4 separate regions of the Homo sapiens genome follow, and all the other regions are linked to region 4. Evidence: promoter capture Hi-C in 16 types of primary human blood cells and fetal thymus (Javierre and others, 2016). All regions are on one chromosome and are shown on one strand. Each heading gives the region's core, a stretch centred on a gene start or on the middle of the fragment in contact. The rest is flanking DNA. Distances are from core to core; before and after follow the strand shown. Region 1 overlaps OVOL2 (ovo like zinc finger 2). Region 2 overlaps MGME1 (mitochondrial genome maintenance exonuclease 1). Region 3 has its middle 31 kb from the start of MGME1. Region 4 holds the start of BANF2 (BANF family member 2).

Region 1 (4,537 bases), core at 1,646-4,145, 330 kb after region 4:
CGCTCACCACCACGCCCAGCTAATATTTTGTATTTTTAGTAGAGACGGGGTTTCACCGTGTTAGCCAGGATGGTCTCGATCTCCCGACCTCGTGATCCTCCCATCTCGGCCTCCCAAAGTACTGGGATTACAGGCGTGAGCCACTGCGCCCGGCTGTAAGGTCTAACTTAGGCTCTCAAAGAGAGGTTATGGCTGTGAAGGAGACACACGTCACAAAAGCATGGAAGTTGAGAGAGGGTGAATATGGTACTGGGGGTGCATGGAGCATGAAGAGGCCACTGCCACAGCCACGAGACCATCCTAGAGCCTAGAGACAGGAGGGATGCCACCTGGAGAAACCCGCAGACCCTGTACAGATTCCCGGGCCTGCCTCAGGGACCCCAGGCACTAGGTCAGGGGCTGGGACTAGGAAGCTGTAGTTTTATTTTTAATATTTTATTTTATTTTATTTTTTTGAGACTGAGTCTTGCTCTATCACTCAGGCTGAAGTGCAGTGGCATAATCTTGGCTCACTGCAACCTCCGCTTCCCTAGTTCAAGCAATTCTCCTGCCTCAGCCTCCCAAGTAGCTGCGACTACAGGTGCCCGCCACAACAGCCATCTAATTTTTTTATTTTTAGTAGAGAAGGGGTTTCACTGTGTTGGCCAGGCTGGTGTCAAACTCCCGATCTCAGGTGATCCACCTGCCTTGGCCTCTCAAAGTGCTGGGATTACAGGCATGAACCACCGTGCCTGGCCCTAATAGTTACCTTTTATTAAAATATAAAAAATAGGCTGGGTGCGGTGGCTCACGCTTGTAATCCTAGCATTTTGGGAGGCCGGGCTGGGTGGATCGCCTGAGGTCGGGAGTTCGAGACCTGCCTGGCCAATACAGTGAAACCCCGTCTCTAGTAAAAATACAAAAATTAGCCTGGTGTGGTGGCCCACATCTGTAATCTCAGCTACCTGGGAGAATGAGGCACGAAAATTGCTTGAACCCAGCAGGCAGAGGTTGCAGTGAGCTGAGATAGTGCCACCGCACTCCAGCCTGGGCAATAGAGCGAGACCCTGTCTCAAATAAATACATAAATAAATAAACAAAATAAATAACAAAAGGTTACTATTAATAGTTGTTTAAATTTAAAAGTAATATACCCCCCAGTTTTATGGTGAAAAACAGCAGTAAATTAAAAAAAATAAAACAGAAAAGATCCCTTTGTCACCCCATGCACCTCTCCTTCCCTAGTCCTAACTCGCAAGTTTCTTGTGATCCTTCACATTTTCTACAAATTATATATATGTACATTTTTATTTTATTTTATTTTTTGAGAAGGAGTCTCACTCTGTCTCCCAGGCTGCAGTGCAGTGGCACAATGTCGGCTCACTGCAACCTCTGCCTCCTGGGTTCAAGCGAGTATCCTGCCTCAGCCTCCCTAGTAGCTGGGACCACAGGTGCCTGCTACAATGTCCAGCTAACTTTTGTATTTTTTTAGTAGAGACCGGGTTTCACCATGTTGACCAGGCTGATCTTGAACTCCTGACCTCAGGAGATCCACCTGCCTCGGCCTCCCAAAGTGCTGGGATTACAGGCATGAGCCACCACGCCCGGCCTACATATGTATTTTAAGATTAATAAATATATGTCATCTCTGGGTGTTGCCTGAGCAGGAGAATTTGTTAAAGCTTCCCCAGGAGGCTCTAGTGTGCAGCCAAGTATGAAAACGAGAGTTCTAAATAAATGCACATTCACATTGGCATATGCACGGATGTACATGTTTCCGAAACATAAACCTGGGGTTCTGGAGAGACGGTCTGGAGGGTGGTGAAGGCTTACACTTGCCATTGCGTCCCTGTCTGTACTACTTCCCATCTCCAACCACCTGCCAGTATTAATAATAATAATTTTCGTACTAACTGTGGTTCCTTCTGGGCAGTGTAATGACAATGAATCTCCCACCTTTTCTCTTAAAACTATTCTAGGATGGGTGCATGGCTCACACCTGTAATCCCAGCACTTTGGGAGGCCAAGGCAGGAGGATCTCTTGAGTCCAGGAGTTCGAGACTAGCCTGGCGAACATGGGGAGATCCCTGTCTTTACAAAAAAGTAAAAAATTAGCTGGGCATGGTGGCATGCCCCTGTGGTCCCAGCTACTCAGGAGGCTAAGGTGGGAGAGATCACTGGAACCCAGGAATTCAAGGCTACAGTGAGCCATGATCGCACCACTGCACTCCAGCCTGGGCGAGAGTGAGACCCTGTCTCAGAAAAACAGAAAACAAACAAACCAACCCTCACCAATCAAGGTTAAGAAAGTTTTAAGGCAATATTTTAAAAATCAAAATATCGAATGAATGGATGAACTCTGTTGGTTCCAGGAAAGAAAGGCCACATCTTTGGGACTAGTTTTCCACATAGGCAAGGACTACAGACTCCTCTCCTAAGGAATGCGCCCGCTCTAGCTTTCATGTTTGCACTGTAATGCAGACTTTGTGTTTTCCCGGCCTTCTGGGCCCATGCAGCAGCGAGCAGCTGGCTCCCACTACCCAGTAGATCAAGCGGCAAACCCGATTTCCAACCTTCAGCTCATCAGAGCAGAAATCCACCCAGAGATTAGTTGCTCCTTTCACTAGTTAGTAGAAATAACCGACTACTGTTTTAAAACATCCAAACTAAAAATATGGGGAAGCTGGCACACTTAACATCAGGCTTTAACCTGGATGCAACAAACTCCTGGAGGTTCCCATCCTCAAAGGTGATCTGCCCCCGAGGAGAGGCCAGCCAGGCCACCACTCAGCCCCATGTGCACAGGGCCACATCTCCTTCCTCTCTTCAGTCAACACAGCCTCTGAGCATCTTCTATGAGCAGAGTACCCAGCAAGGCCTGGATAGCAAACGCTAGAAGATTCCAAAGCCCTGCATCATGCAAACAAGAGAGATGATGGCAGTGGGGGCTTTTTTTCCAGGGAGTGGGTAGAATTAGAGCCTGGCTTGGAAGAGGAGTGACTCGCAGACAGAGATGGAAAGGAGACATAGGCCCAGAAAGCTCCAGTTATGGCACTTCTGACTTTTGCCAAATGCACTGCTCTGTGCCCCAGCACTTCTGCTTCCCCATTTGCTAGTGTAAACGCCACCATTCACCCCTCATTCACTGGTGCGGGCACTGCCATGCGGCAGCCCCTTGGTGACCCTTTCTAGGCTTGGGAACAAGCACCTCCCTCCCAGAGCACCCCCATCACCCACACATTCAGGGGGACGTGGGTGGCCAGAGAGGAGCCCTGGGCAAGACGGACTGATGCCAAGGCCCCTCCCACCACTGAGGCTCACCCATCTTGGTGCTCTCACGCAAAGGCCAACCGTGCCTGTGTCTAAAGCAGGACATGGGAACTGAAGAGCACCACCCATGCGCTAGACGTCATTAACCTACTGACACCCACACGACTGTGAGTCCAAGGCCACCGAAGAGCCAGGCTGCGGATCTGCTGCTTATTAACTGAAACGGGGGCGGCTGCTCCAGCCCGAAAGGCCGTTTCCTCACCTGTCACAGGGGTGTCATAGCTCTTGCATGGCTGCTGTGAGGATTAGCCGAGATAGACTAAGTTCTCAATGGGATACAGCTCAACATAATGCAGATAAGCCTCATTCGTAAGCTGGCTGCTGACCAGCCTGGCCAATATGGTGAAACCCCACCTCTACTAAAAAATACAAAAAAAATTTAGCCGGGCATGGTGGCGAGTGCCTGTAATCCCAGCTACTCGGGAGGCCAGGGCAGGAGAATCGCTGGAATCTGGGAGGCAGAGGTTGCAGTGAGCTGAGATGGCGCCACTGCACTCCAACCTGGGTAACGGAGCGAGACTCTATCTCAGAAAAAAAACAAAACAAAAACATAAGCTGGCTGCTGGGTACATGAGTATTTCGCAGATTTGTCTTTAAACTGTACCTATATGTATACTTTTGTACGTGTTACTTATTTCACAACAAAAGGAAAGGATAATTTTTTAAAATGTGGCTGGTGGAGGAGAGGGGGGACTGCTTTCGCCGTCTGCCCTTTTGAATTTTGTACCATCAGCCTGTCCTACCTAGTCCGAAAAATATTGTTTATTGGGTTATCAAAAAGGGTTTGTTGTTTTCCATTTTTTTACCCCTAATAGCAAATCAAGCTTCGTGCCATACATCCTCAAGGAAAATTCTACACTTTGGAACTTTCTAGTTGCTTTCCTTGCTATAGCTCAACTGCTCCTTTACTGAACTTTATCCGAAGGTGAACTTCAGCGAGAAGATTTTTACAGGCATGCTTGTGGGAGTGGACATTTACGGCAGCCTCCCCGGAAGGCAATTTGGCAATGGCCATAAAAAAAAATCACACTGTATCTACCCTTTGGCCCAGCAATTTCACATCAGGGAAATTATCCTACAGGAAGACTCACACAGGGAGGCGAAGGATATACAAGATATACTCATGGTAGGATTGCCTGAAATGAAAGAAAGGAAAGAAGGAAGGAAAGAAGAAAGGAAGGAAGCGAGGAAGAAGGGAAGGAAAGAAGAGAGGGAAAGAAAGAGAAAG
Region 2 (4,735 bases), core at 239-2,738, 280 kb after region 4:
TCTCGGCTCACTGCACGCTCCGCCTCGGGTTCACGCCATTCTCCTACCTCAGCCTCCCCAGCAGCTGGGACTACAGGCGCATGCCACCACGCCCGGCTAATTTTTTTTTTTTTGTATTTTTAGTAGAGACAGGGTTTCACCGTGTTAGCCACAATGGTCTCGATCTCCTGACCTCGTGATCTGCCCGCCTCGGCCTCCCAAAGTGCTGGGATTACAGGTGTGAGCCACCGCACCGGGCCTAATAATTTTTTATTTTATTTTAGTTTATTTTTTTGAGGCAGTCTTTCACTGTCACCCATGCTGGAGTGCAGTGATGCATTCAGGGCTCACTGCAGTCTCTAACTCCCCAGGCTCAGGCTGTCCTTCCACCTCAGCTTCCCAAATAGCTGGAACTACAGGGATGCACCACCACACCCAACTAATTTTTCTATTTTTTGTAGATGTGGGGTCTCACCATTTTGCTCAGGCTGGTCTTGAACTCCTGGGCTCAAGTGATCCACCACCTCAGCCTCTCAAAGTGTTGGAATTACAAACGTGAGCCCCTATGCCTGGCCGATTTTGTTTTTGAGAAGGAGTTTTGCTGTTGTCGCCCAGGCTGGAGTACAATGGCGAGATCTTGGCTCACTACAACCTCTGCTTCCCGGGTTCAAGTGATTCTCCTGCCTCAGCCTCTCTAGTAGCTGGGATTACAGGCGCCTGCTACCATACCCAGCTCATTTTTGTATTTTTCATAGAGACGGGGTTTCACCATGTTGGCCAGGCTGGTCTCAAGCTCCTGACCTCAGGAGATCTGCCTGCCTCGGCCTCCCAAAGTGCTGGGATTACAGGTGTGAGCCACTGTGCCCGACCCCACTGAATTTTTAATGGGTAATATGCTATTAAGAGTAACTCCCCACACCCACTCTGTATTGAACCTCTGTTTAAAAAGCTCCTGTGTTCCTGAGATATTGTATGACCATATGTACAATCATTTGTCCCCACACTCATTTTTTAACACAAGATGATATACCCTGCTTTTTTCCACTTAAAAAAATTATTTAAAAAAAAATCAGGCTGGGCGCAGTGGCTCACACCTGTAATCCCAGTACTTTGGGAGGCCAAGGCAGGCAGATCACGAGGTCAGAAGATTGAGACCATCCTGGCTAACACGGTGAAACCCCATCTCTACTAAAAATACAAAAAGTTAGCCAGGCATGGTGGCAGGCGCCTGTAGTCCCAGCTACTTGGGAGGCTGAGGCAGGAGAATGGCGTGAACCCGGGAGGCGGAGCTGGCAGTGAGCTGAGATCACGCCACTGCACTCTAGCATGGGTGACAGAGTGAGACTCCATCTCAAAAAAAAAAAAAAAATCTTTTATTAGTTTATATAGATCTGTAACATTCTTTTCTCATGTAATAATTTTCCACCACCCACAATTAACACTTAACACTGGTGCATTTGCTTAAAACTTTTTTTTTCCTTATCCCTGTGATTACATGGAGATCTTTTTTTTAAAGAAATATAATATTACAGATTAACCCCAAATTCTGTTGAACCACCCGTGGCCAAAGGCGATTGCTGTTTTAAGTTTGGCACTACCTCCTTCTAGTCTGCCTTCTACGCTCTTTTTTGTTCTTTTCTTTTTTTAATGACCAATGATCTGTGACACAGCATCAGGAGAACCTAAGAATATGTGCCCTCTATACTCTTAGCACACACATAATGCTATGTATAATACACATGCATAGGCAGCACTTATGTATGATTTCATGCAGAACTGTGACAGTCATAATATACAGACATCTCTAGATACACAGCATCACAAAGCTAGTAAGATATTGGGCTCAGGAGCCAGCTGCTTGAGTTTGGATTCTGGCTTGGCTTTTCATCTTAACCTTAGATTAATTACTTAGTCGCTCTCTGTCTCAATTTATTCATCTTTAAGATAAGACAAATGGTAGTACCTACCTTGTTATAAAATGAGATATTCCCTGAAGAGTGCTTAATGCATACTATGTATTCAGTAGATGTTACATTATTATTTTGATCTACTTCTTTTTTTACTTTTTTATAGAAATAATTCTTGCTGTGTTGCCCAGACTAATCTAGAACTGGGAAGGAAGTATGATCCTCACCTCAGCCTCCCAAAGTGCTGGGATTACAGGCGTGAGCCACCTTGCCCAATCTACTACTCGTGTGTGTGTGTGTGTGTGTGTGTGTGTGTGTGTGTGTCAGAGTCTCGCTCTATTGCCCAGGCTGGAGTGCAGTGGCACAATCTGGACTCACTATAACCTCCGCCTCCCAGGTTCCAGCAATTCTGCCTCGCCCTCCTGAGTAGCTGGGATTACAGGTGCCTGGCTAATTTTTTTTGTATTTTTAATAGAGACAGGGTTTTGCCATGTTGGCCAGGCTTGTTTCGAACTCCTGACCTAAGGTGATCCACCCATCTCAGCCTCCCAAAGTGCTGGGATTACAGACTTGAGCCACTGCACCTGGCCCTACTTCTCTCTTAACTCGTTTTTTGTATTCTTTTGTATGAATGAGCCTTACCCATTTCCCTATTGGGAACACTCAGATTATTTCTAGTTTTCCACAATTACAAACAGTGCTGCAGCAAATGTGCCTCTTTGTATATTACAGAGCTGTTCTAGGCAGATGCACAGATTCATTTGTTTATTTATTTTTTTTCTTGAGACGGAGTTTCACCCTTGTTGCCCAGGCTGGAGTGAAATGGTGCGGCACCGCAACTTCCACCTCCTGGGTTCAAGCGATTCTCCTGTCTTGTACTCCCAAGTGGCTGAGATTACAGGCATGTGCCACCATGCTCAGCTAATTTTTTGTTTTTAGTGGAGACAGGGTTTCACCATGTTGGCCAGGTTGGTCTCGAACTCCTGACCTCAGGTGATCCACCCACCTCAGCCTCCCAAAGTGCTGGGATTACAGACATGAGCCACCATGCCTGGCCTGTTTGTTTTAGACGTGTGATATATGCAGTTACAATCCATTTAGTTGGTCTGAAGTAGACCCGGACATGACTGCTTCTTAAATCTCCCAGGCACTTGTCACTTCACTTGTACTCAGGATATCAAGCCATTGCTATCCTATACTTTAGGAAGGTTGCTGGGTCAAGGGTATGCATTTTAAATTACCAAGAATATGAGTGAATACATTTAACAATACAGTGTTAGTAATTTTGATAACATTGTATTTTTAATTTGCATGTCACATAAGTGAGACTGAGCATCTTTTCATTTAAGAGCTATTTGTGAACTGTTACTGTACTTTTAATTTGGGTTTACGCTACTATGATGTTAAAAAATGTTTTTGACTGACAATAATTATATATATTTATAGGCTACAGTATGATATTTTGATATATGTATACCTAATGGAAAGATTAAATAAGCTAATTATCATATCCATCACTTCACCTATTTATCATTTTTTGGTGGTGAGAATCTTTAAAATCTACTCTTTTAGCAACTTTTAAATATACAATGCATTATTAAATATGGTCACCATGCTGTGCAACAGATCACTAAAATTTATTCTTCTGACCTAACTGAAACCTCTTACCCTGGGATCAGCATCTCCCCTTTCCTCTTCCCCACTCTCCATCCCTATCCTCTTGTAATCACCATTCTACTCTCTCTCTTTCTGAGTTCGACTTTTTTAGATTCCACATATAAATGAAATCATGCAGTATTTGTCTTTTTGTGCCCAGCTTATTTCACTCAGCAAAATGTTCACCATGTTCACCCATGTCACAAATGACAGAATTTCCTTCTTTTTAAAGGCTATGTAGTGTTCTATTGTGTGTGTGTGTGTGTGTGTGTGTGTGTGTGTGTATCCACATTTTCTTTATCCATTTATCCATAGATGGACACTTAGGTTGTTTCCGCATCTTGGCCTTTGTAAATAATGCTTCAGTGAACCTGGGATTGCAGGTGTCTCTTCAACATACTGATTTTAATTCGTTTGGCTATATATCCAAAAGTAGGATTCCTGGATCGTATAGTAGTTCTGGTTTCAGTTTTTAGATGTTTTAGTTTTCTGAGGAACCTCCATGATGTTTTCTCAAATGGCTATACTAATTTACATGCCCACCAACAGTTTATCAGGGTTCTCTTTTCTGCAGTCCTCACCAACACTTACCTTTTGTCTTTTTGATAATAGCCATTCTAACAGGCATGAGGTAATAATAGCCCAGTGTGATTTTGATTTGTCTTTCACTAATGATTAGAGATATTGAGCATATTTTCATCTATCTGTTGGTCATTCATGTCTTCTTTTAAGAAATATTCATTGAGCTCCTTTGCCCATTTTTTAATCAAGTTATTTGTTTTGTTACTATTTAGTTGTTTGAGTTCCTTATATACTTTGGATATTATCCCCTTATCAGATAGGTGGTTTGCAAATATTTTCTCCCATTCTGTGGATTGTGTCTTCACTGTTGTTTCCTTTGTTATGCAGAAGCTTTTTATTTGGATGTATATGTCTGTTTTTGCTTTTGTTACCTGTGCTTTTGGGCTTCTGAGAAATCATGGCTCAGATCAGTGTTGGGGAGCTTTTCTCCTGTTTTTTTTCTAGTAGTTTTACAGTTTCAGGTCTTAAATTTTAAGTTGATTTTTGTATGTGGTATGAGATAGGGTACAATTTCATTCTTATGCAAGTCGATACCCAGTTTTCCTAACACAATTGACAAAACATTCCCCATTGTTCGTTCTTGGTACCTTTATTGAAAATCAATTGACTGT
Region 3 (4,320 bases), core at 1,499-3,998, 300 kb after region 4:
ATGGTATAGGGCAGGAAGCAGGAGCCTCAGAATTGGGCAGAGGTGGGTTCAAATCCTGCTGTGCAATGCTAAGTCACTTCAGCTCTCCATGCCTTTTTCCTCACTAGTAATTTGGGGAAGAGTATTAACCTCAGTGTTCCTGGAAAGATTAACATAGGAAATGTGTGACAAATGCTGAACGTGGAATAGGCACTGGGCAAAGATCAACTACTTCCTCCGTGGAACCGACTCTACCCTTCACTGAACTCTTGTGGTGCCTTTGTTTTTACCACCCACTTTGATTCTTGTTCATATTCTACCTTTTTCTGTTACTTCACTATTTCAGATGTACATGTAACAAACACAGTGAAACCCCGTCTCTACTAAAAATACAAAAAATTAGCCGGGAGTGGTGGCACATCCTGTAGTCCCAGCTACTCAGGAGGCTGAGGCAGGAGAATCGCTTGAACCCTGGAGGGGGAGGTTGCAGGGAGCAGAGATTGCACCACTGCATTCCAGCCAGGGCGGCAGAACGAGACTCCGTCTCAAAACAAAAACAAACAAACAAACAAAAAGACAAAAAAAACTACTTATTTTATATCTATTTCTTAAGTAAAATGAAAAACAAAAAGAAAAAAACTCTCAAATCTGAACCCAAAACATCTTTTTATTTATTTATTTTTTTGAGACAGGGTCTCATTCTGTCGCCAAGGCTGGAGTGCAGTGGCACAATCTTGGCTCACTACAACCTCTGCCTCCTGGATTCAAGCGATTCTCTTGCCTCAGCCTCCCGAGTAGCTGGGATTACAGGTCATTACCACCGCACCTGGCTAATTTTTTGTATTTTTAGTAGAGACGGGGTTTTTTCATGTTGGCTGGCTGGTCTCGAACTCCTGACCTCAGGTGATCCATCCACCTTGGCCTCCCAAAGTGCTGCGATTATAGGCGTGAGCCACCATGTCTGGCCCAGAATAGTGTTTTAAGAGAGAGATGAGTAAAGAGACAAACAACAGAGGAAACTGCCATTTCCTAGAGCAGCAGAAAAAGAGCTGGGTATCAGAATGGCTCACCAGAGAAATTTGGTTAGTGCTGGTCACCCCTTTGATAAGAGGCTGTGGGTTGACTTGTGAGCTCAGTGATTTGAAAGTTTTGAGTATATGAAGAAAAAAAAAAGAAATGAAAGCTTTGTGTAGAACTAGGGGAGTCTCGCAGTGAAACAAGACTTGCAAAATAGGATTAATGAGGCAGTACAGATAAGGATGCGATGCTGAAGAAAGTCATGGGATTGTAGTTAGACGGTGTATAAATCAGAGAGCTAAAACCAATAGGGCTTGTAGATATAGGTATATGACAGGGGATTTATTAGGGGAATGGGCTCACACAATTATGGGGGCTGAGAAGTCCTACGGTCTGCTGTCTGCAGGCTGGAAAACCAGGGAAGCTGGTAGCATGGCTCCGTCCAAGTTCAAAAGCCTCAGAACCAGAGAACCTGATAGCACTCAGTCTCAGGCCGAAAGCCTGAGAATCCAGGAGGCCACTGGTGTCCCAGAGTCCAAAAGCTGGAGAAGCTGGAGTTCTGATGTCCAAGGGCAGGAGAAGAAGGGTGTTCCAGCTCCAGAAAACAGAGCAAATCCTCCTTTCCTTTGCCTTTTTGTTATCCTGGCCCTCAGCTGATGGACGGTGCCCCCTGACATTGAGTGAGGATGGATCTTCCTTACTCAGTCCACTGATTCAAATGCCAGTTTCTTCCAGAAACACCTCACAGACACCTCAAAATAATGCTTCGCCAGCTGTCTGGGTGTCATTAATCCAGTTACGCTGACACCTAAGATTGACCATCATAGGTGGTAATTCATTCCTTTACCCGACAAATGTCTTATTGAATATTCATGTCTGCCTTGTGCTAGTTTTTTGCAAAATGCATGGAGCTGACAGTCTAGAGAAAGGGCAAACAATTAATAAGTGAGAAAGTTAGTATGAAAATTACAGATTGACAGTGCCATGAAGAAACAGAGGATCACTGAGCCAGGAGGAGAATTGCAACTTTGGATTGTGTGGTCAGAGAGGGCTCCTCTGAGGGGCGACACATAACATGATACTTGAAGGAGGAAAGGAGGAAACGTGGCCAGCACTGCAGAGAGCCACAGGAAGAATATTCCAGCAGAAGGATCAGCATGTTCAAAGGCCCCAGGGTAGGAAAGAACAGCATGTTACAGGAGCTATAAGAACACAGGGGTGGCCAGAAGGCAGTGGGGAAAGGAAAGGAATTGCAGGCTGCAGAAGTGGGCGGGGGAGCCAGATGATGTCAAACTCAATATGCCATGGTAAGGAGTTTAGATTTTACTCTAAGATGGAAAGACAGGGATAAGCAGGGGAATAAAGCCATTCCATTGCCTTTTAAGAAGAGCGGGGCCAAGTGCAGTGGCTCTCACCGGTAATCCCAGCACTTTGGGAGGCCAAGGCAGGAGATCACTTGAGCCCAGGAGTTCGAAACCAGCCTGGGCAACATAGTGAGACCTCCACCTCTATTTTTTTTTATTTTATCTTATCTATTTTATTTTATTTATTTTGAGATGGAGTTTTGCTCTTGTCGCCTAGGCTGGAATGCAATGGCGCCACTTCGACTCACCGCAACATCTGCCTCCCAGGTTCGAGTGATTCTCCTGCCTCAGCCTCCCGAGTAGCTGGGATTACAGGTGCATGCCAACGCCACCATGCCTGGCTAATTTTTGTATTTTTAGTAGAGATGGGGTTTCACCAGGCTGGTCTCGAACTCCTGACCTCAAACGATCCACCTGCCTCGGCCTCCCAAAGTGCTGGGATTACAGGCATGAGCCACCGTACCTGGCCTAATTTAATTAAAATTATTTAAAAGACGAAGAAGAAGAAAAAGAAGAAGAAGAGGAGGAGGAGGAGGCGGCGGCGGCAGCAGCAGCAGCAGAAGCAGATCAGCATTGTTTGGAGAGCAGAATGCAGGAGGCAAGTGCTGAAGCACAGCCTGGCTGGACTATTATAGACAGAGCTATTATAATAGGAGTCAGCACACTGGCTCATCCACCAAATCCGGCTTGCTGCCTGATACAGTCTTTATACGGTCTGTGAGCATAGAGTTGTTTTTACATTTTTAAATGTTTGGAAAAAAAATCAAAAGTAGAGTCTTTTTATGGCATATATAATTTTTATAAAATTGTAAAGATTCGAATTCCAGTGTCTGTAAGTCAAGGTTTCCTGGAACACAGCATCACCCATTTGCTTTTGACTCTGGCTGCTTTCCTTCTGTAGCTGCAGGTTAAGTCGGTAACAGAGGCTGTATGGCCTGCAAAGCCTCAAGTATTTACTATCTGGACTTCTATAGAGTAAGTCTGCCGACTCTCAGTCTAGATGATAGAAGAGGTAGGCTGGCCTAGAGAAATGGCAGAGGAGGTGCTGGGAAGGAAGATTCGAGATGTATTTTGGGAGCCTTGCCTGAGGGTTTGAATGAGATGAGTGATGAAGAAGTATAAATGGAAGGTAAGTTGTAGGTTTAGGGCATGTGTGTTATTTGCTGACATGGGAAAGGCTGGAGGGAGAAAATCCAGGTCCAGCCCCATCTTTTCTCCTCACTAACACTATCAGTTAGCTTTGCTGTGCAATAAATCACCCAGCCTGGGCAACATGGTGAGACTCGCTTCTAGAAAAAACGGAAAAAAACAAAATAAAACAAACTAGCTGGTTGTGGTGGCACATGCCTGTGGTCCCAGCTACTTGGGAGGCTGAGTTGGGAGGATCGCTTGAGCCTGGGAGATAGAGGTTGCAGTGAGTCATGTTTGTGCCACAGCACTCCAGTCTGGGTGACAGAGTGAGACCTTGTCTCAAAAACAAGTAAATAAAAATCACCCCCAAATTCAGTGGTTTACGACTTATTTCTCATGATTCTGAGGTCAAGCTGAGCATTTCTGGTCTGTGCTGGCTCAAGTAGGGCTAGATGATTTAGGATGTCATCACTTAGATGTCTGAGGGTTGGCCTGGTGTCAGCTGGGGCCATGGAGATGCCTGGGCCTGGTGACTCTCATCCTCCAGAGGGCTAACCTGGGCTCTCATTCACGCAGCAGTAGCAGAAGGATTCCGGACAGCAGCAGAACAAGCCCCAGCACACAGCATTTCACAAGCCTCGGCTTGGGCCGTGCTGACTAATGTCTCGTTTGCCAAAGCAGGTCATGTGGCCAAGGCAAGACCAAAGGATAGAGAAATAAATTCCACCTCTTGCAGAGAGGAGCCAAAAACTCACATGGCAAAGGGCTGTGGAACAGGAAAGGGAACAATGGGCCCATTTTTACAACCCACCATGCTAACAGCATGACC
Region 4 (4,273 bases), core at 1,159-3,658:
TTTCTTATTTACAAAGTCTTAGTTTGGGTTCCCCCTGAAGCAGACCCTGAAACAAGGATTTGAGTGGAAGCAGTTTATTTGCAGTTTGATCCCAGGAAACATAGGTAGGGGAGCGGGGAAGTGAGGCAGGGGATGGGGGCAACAATGTGGGGTATGTTAGCAAGCCAGTTGCCACTGTGGGCACTGATATGGTTTGAATATTCGTCCCCTCCAAATCTCACGTTGAAAAGTGATTGCAATGTTGGAAGTGGGGCCTGGTGGGCGGTGTTTGTGTCCTGGGGGCAGATCCCTCATGAATGTCTTGGTGCTGTACTCATGATAGTGAGTTCTTGTGAGAGCTGGCTGTTTAAAAGTGTGTGGTACCCGGCCGGGTACGGTGGGTCATGCCTATAATCCCAGCACTTTGGGAGGCCAGGATGGGCGGATCATCTGAGGTCAGGAGTTTGAGACCAGCCTGGCCAAAAAAGTGAAACCCCATCTCTACTAAAAATACAAAAAAATTAGCTGGGAGTGGTGGTGGGTGCCTGTAAATCCCAGTTACTTTGGAGGTTGAGGCAGGAGAATTGCTTGAACCCGGGAGGCGGAGGTTGCAGTGAGCCGAGATCACGCCATCGCATTCCAACCTGGGCAACAAGAGTGAGACTCCATCTCAAAAATAAAAAATAATAATAAAAAAAAAAGGTGTGTGGTACCTCCCTTGCCTTGTTCCCACTCTTGCCATGTGATACACTGGCTCCCTGTTTACCTTCAGACATAATTGTCAGCTCCTTAAGGCCTCACTGGAAGCAAAGCAGGTGCTGGCACCGTGCTTCCTGAACAGCCTGCAGAACTGTGAGCCAATTAAACCTCTTTTCTGTGGAAATTACCCAGCCTCAGATATTTCTTTATAGGAAGAGAATGGCCTAGCATAGGCACCTACGGGTGGGTCCTGTGGGTCCTCTGGGACATGGAACAGGACATGACTCCAGGTTATTCCACCTGAGCAGGGAGGGAGCTGGGTTATTTATCTACCAACTGATAATAGTCATTGAATGAGGACATTCTGCAACTTGCAGCTGCCCGCTTGTAGGCAGGGTGGACTCCAGCAGCTGGCAAAAGCCCCCAAGCAAAGATACGCAGGTACTGGCAGCTGGGAGTCAGATTACCTTTGTACAATGAAGTTGTAAGGCCAAGAGGCTATGGGCAGGGCACTGACAACGTCAGTTGTGCTTCCCCAAAACGTGGCTCAGTTCTGGCAATGAATAGATCCTCAGTAAAGCGTGCTGGTTGAACCCAGAGAGCTCAGCCAGCTTTGGCCCCAAAGCTACAGCTCCTGTTTATTCTCCAGCAACCCCTGAATACTGCCATCAGCTGGCAATACTATTTCAGGATCAAACCTAAGATACCAGCACCCTTACATGTTCTTAAAGTGTGTAGTCTCAGAGCAAGCAGCCTCAACGTCATGTGGGAACGTGTAAGAAATGTGAATTATTGGGTTCTCCCCCAGACCTAATGAGTCAGAAACTTTGAGAGTGGGGCCCAGGAATCTGTATTTTAACGAGTCTTCCAGGTCATTCTAATGCAACCTACAGTTTAAGACCCACTGTTTTGGACTCTAAAATTTAGGGCCACCCAACAGTTTCCAAAGCGAAGCCGTTTGCTCTTGGTTAGAACTCCTCCATCCCCAATCCCAAGCACCAGCAGCAAAAGGGAATGGAATCTCTGGAAACATTTTATACTTTGCCCCCTTTTTTGAGTTTTTCTTTTCTTTTTAGGCTTAGTAAATATACATTGTACCAAGTTATCAATTACCAACAATGGAAAGTAGCCCAGGCATATATGCTATAGAGGATAACCTAAAAGACACCTGTGTTGAATTTAACTTGAAGGTGGGAGGATTTATATTTCTGCTTGTTTTCCTGAGCTAATATTTAAGTTACTTCTCTTTCCTTGAGTCCCTACCAGGTGGGCAGTAGGGGGAAAGTCACGGGTATACTGGTAGAAGAAAAAGCTGCCCTGGAATTTCAAGTCCATCACAGAAGATGTGCAAGGAGCTGGGGGTACCCACGGAAGTCACTTTGTGCAGGAAAACTGCATGAAGGATGGACTTGGTTTAACTGAATTGACGCAGGCCAGGTGAGAATAGGAACCGTGGCAGCAAGTGGCAGCAGGTGGATTCATAAGCAGTCTTCCAGGCTGATGTTTTCTGTACAGCAGACATCCCTCACTCTTTCCCAGCAACCCCAGCTGAGAACAGCACCCAGACAGGCTGATTTCTTCTGGAGAGGCCTGAGGCTCTTGCTCCTGCCCTGCCCTGTGCCCTGATGCCAGCAGCCACTGCAGCCCTTTTTGTGCTCACCCCCGACCTGTGGTGTGACATCACAATGTAGTCCATTCAGGATCTTGAGACTGATTTGCCCCATGGGCCTAAGACATAAGCTGAACCTCTGGCCTGCAGTTCCAGATCCAAGGTGACTGAGACAAACTGCCAGCTGCCACTGGCTTATCAGGAGCACCTGGTGAGTATTCAGAACTTTCCCAAGCAGCATGGAAGGAGATACAGCCAACAGCTGGCTGTCTTAGCACTTTAAGGTCTCATTCTCACACAGGTTTAGATGAGCCAAACCGGTGGACAGGAGTTCACCAGGTAAGCCCCAAACTCTTCCTAGGAAAGCTGACTCACCTGATGCACACACCCCTTCCCAGCCTCTTCCTGCTGTGTCACCATCTGCGGGAGGTGGTACTCTAGTCTCCCCTAAGACTCGGCTTGCCACCTGCACCAGCTCCCTGGGCAAAGGTCACCTGTGTTCTTAATAGAGCAGAGAGGCCAGGCTTTCAGATGGCAAATTCACTAGAGCATCACTTCTAGCCCTAATTGAGGTCAGGGACAGCCATTGGCCAAATGACACACCACATAGCAGGATGAGCAGAGGTAGCTGACACAGCCACCTCCCGTCCAAAATGTGAACGACGGTCCTTCCTTTCTGTAAGAGGCCTTCCTGCTTTGGCTGTTTTTAAATCCACCTCCTGGTGACCTGCTGGTATATCAAATCACTTCCTTTCCTTTTGGGACAGTAAGAGAGCTTTAGGATCGTGACGGGAAATAAGGAGATGGATTAGAACACCAGGAAAGTGGGCAAAATCTAAGGTAGCGGGGACAGGGACAGAGGCCAAAGCCATCTCTCAAAGAGGATGCTGGCTCTTTCCATATGGGCCACCTGCACTCGGCTGAGGGTGGTTTGAGACTCAAGGCCTTCTATAACAAACAGTAGGGACCCGTTCTGGGCCCCAGGAGGCACAGCTGCCTTCCCTACCATGGCCCATTCGTGTTTTCCCACAGTCTGTCTACGGTCCATTCACCATCTGTGAGTGCCAACACGTCCACACAGCTGCAGCTGCGTCCCTTCTCCCACAAAGGAGTGGCTTCTATAGGGACCCCATGATTTTAAGAAGGCTCCTGGCTCTCCTTGACTGTGTAAGGTAGAAAGGGAGGTGGTGGGGGGTGGATCAGAGAAATATTTTACCCTTAGGCTTTGCCATCCCTCCTTAGTTTTATATGTGATGGGCTGAAGCCAACCTCTGCTTCACACACAAATCCAAGACGCCAATGGTTCACCAAGCATGCTAAGAACATTTTAGCCTATGTTAGGCCCCACTGGAAAAGGAAAAAAGACAGTAGAGGGGCCGGCGCTAGAGCAACCTGTGGTCCCCGTCCTGCAGCAGGTTTAATTTGGAGAGGAGAAAGGGAGCAAACGCTGAACCTCCCGTGCCAGACCCACCAGCTATGTTATTGCTCTTAATTCCGACCTCTGTGAAGCAGGTGTTCTCAGGTTCATTCTACAGACATAGAAACTGAAGACTGTTCTGTGCTGGTGCCACGTCTAAAGAGGGTCATTAACCTGGAGCATGCCTTCACTCTCTATCGACTATCCCCAACATTAGAGCTCTCTGAAAAGAGAATGGGCTGCTTTGCAAGGCAGCAAGAGTGTGCAGGCCACGGCTCTTCCATCAGCATGGAAGGGAACGGGATTCTTGTGATCAGCTGGGAGCTGGACCAAAAGACCTTTAAAGGCTGTTTCCAAATCCAAGATTGTAGGTTTCTGGGTGTTAGTACTTTGCCCACCCTCTGCGATTGAACTCAGGTGGGTCACGCCTTAAGGACGGCTGCAAACTTTCTGTTAGGCAAGGAGAACTGGGAAGAACCATAGAGATCAGCTACGGGCCCCAGGTAGGAAAGAGGAACCCAGGCTGGTTGAGGGAGTTTTCCAAGGCTCCAGAGCCAATTTGCAGAGTT

Evidence for each region. Contacts are between HindIII fragments. The CHiCAGO score rates a contact against its expected background, and 5 or more counts as called.
Region 1: a contact is called between a fragment that was not itself captured here and the fragment with the promoter of BANF2 in region 4, in 4 of 17 cell types (naive B cells, neutrophils, total B cells and 1 more). The highest score is 10.4, in naive B cells.
Region 2: a fragment that was not itself captured here is called in contact with the fragment with the promoter of BANF2 in region 4 in 6 of 17 cell types (neutrophils, monocytes, naive CD4 T cells and 3 more); the score reaches 10.8 in neutrophils.
Region 3: a fragment that was not itself captured here is called in contact with the fragment with the promoter of BANF2 in region 4 in 15 of 17 cell types (neutrophils, total CD4 T cells, naive CD8 T cells and 12 more); the score reaches 12.5 in neutrophils.

What each region holds. Positions count from the first base shown.
Region 1 is chr20:18,027,740-18,032,276 of GRCh38, forward strand. The region is part of intron 3 of OVOL2 (ovo like zinc finger 2); the gene reads right to left. Among named protein-coding and RNA genes, the nearest start is that of OVOL2, 28 kb to the right of the region's middle. The HindIII fragment of the contact is 2,472 bases long and covers 1,660-4,131 here.
Region 2 is chr20:17,979,477-17,984,211 of GRCh38, forward strand. The region is part of intron 3 of MGME1 (mitochondrial genome maintenance exonuclease 1); the gene reads left to right. Among named protein-coding and RNA genes, the nearest start is that of MGME1, 13 kb to the left of the region's middle. RefSeq lists an enhancer at 3,936-4,735. The HindIII fragment of the contact is 5,928 bases long and covers 1-4,452 here.
Region 3 is chr20:17,997,557-18,001,876 of GRCh38, forward strand. No RefSeq gene overlaps it. Among named protein-coding and RNA genes, the nearest start is that of MGME1, 31 kb to the left of the region's middle. RefSeq lists an enhancer at 2,369-2,870. The HindIII fragment of the contact is 3,176 bases long and covers 1,161-4,320 here.
Region 4 is chr20:17,697,558-17,701,830 of GRCh38, forward strand. BANF2 (BANF family member 2) reads left to right here and starts at 2,409. Exons shown (of 4, transcript NM_178477.5): 1 at 2,409-2,498. It overlaps LOC105372547 (a long non-coding RNA gene), which reads right to left and starts at 2,302. Exons shown (of 2, transcript XR_937294.2): 1 at 1,942-2,302; 2 at 59-623. The HindIII fragment of the contact is 11,340 bases long and covers 1-4,273 here.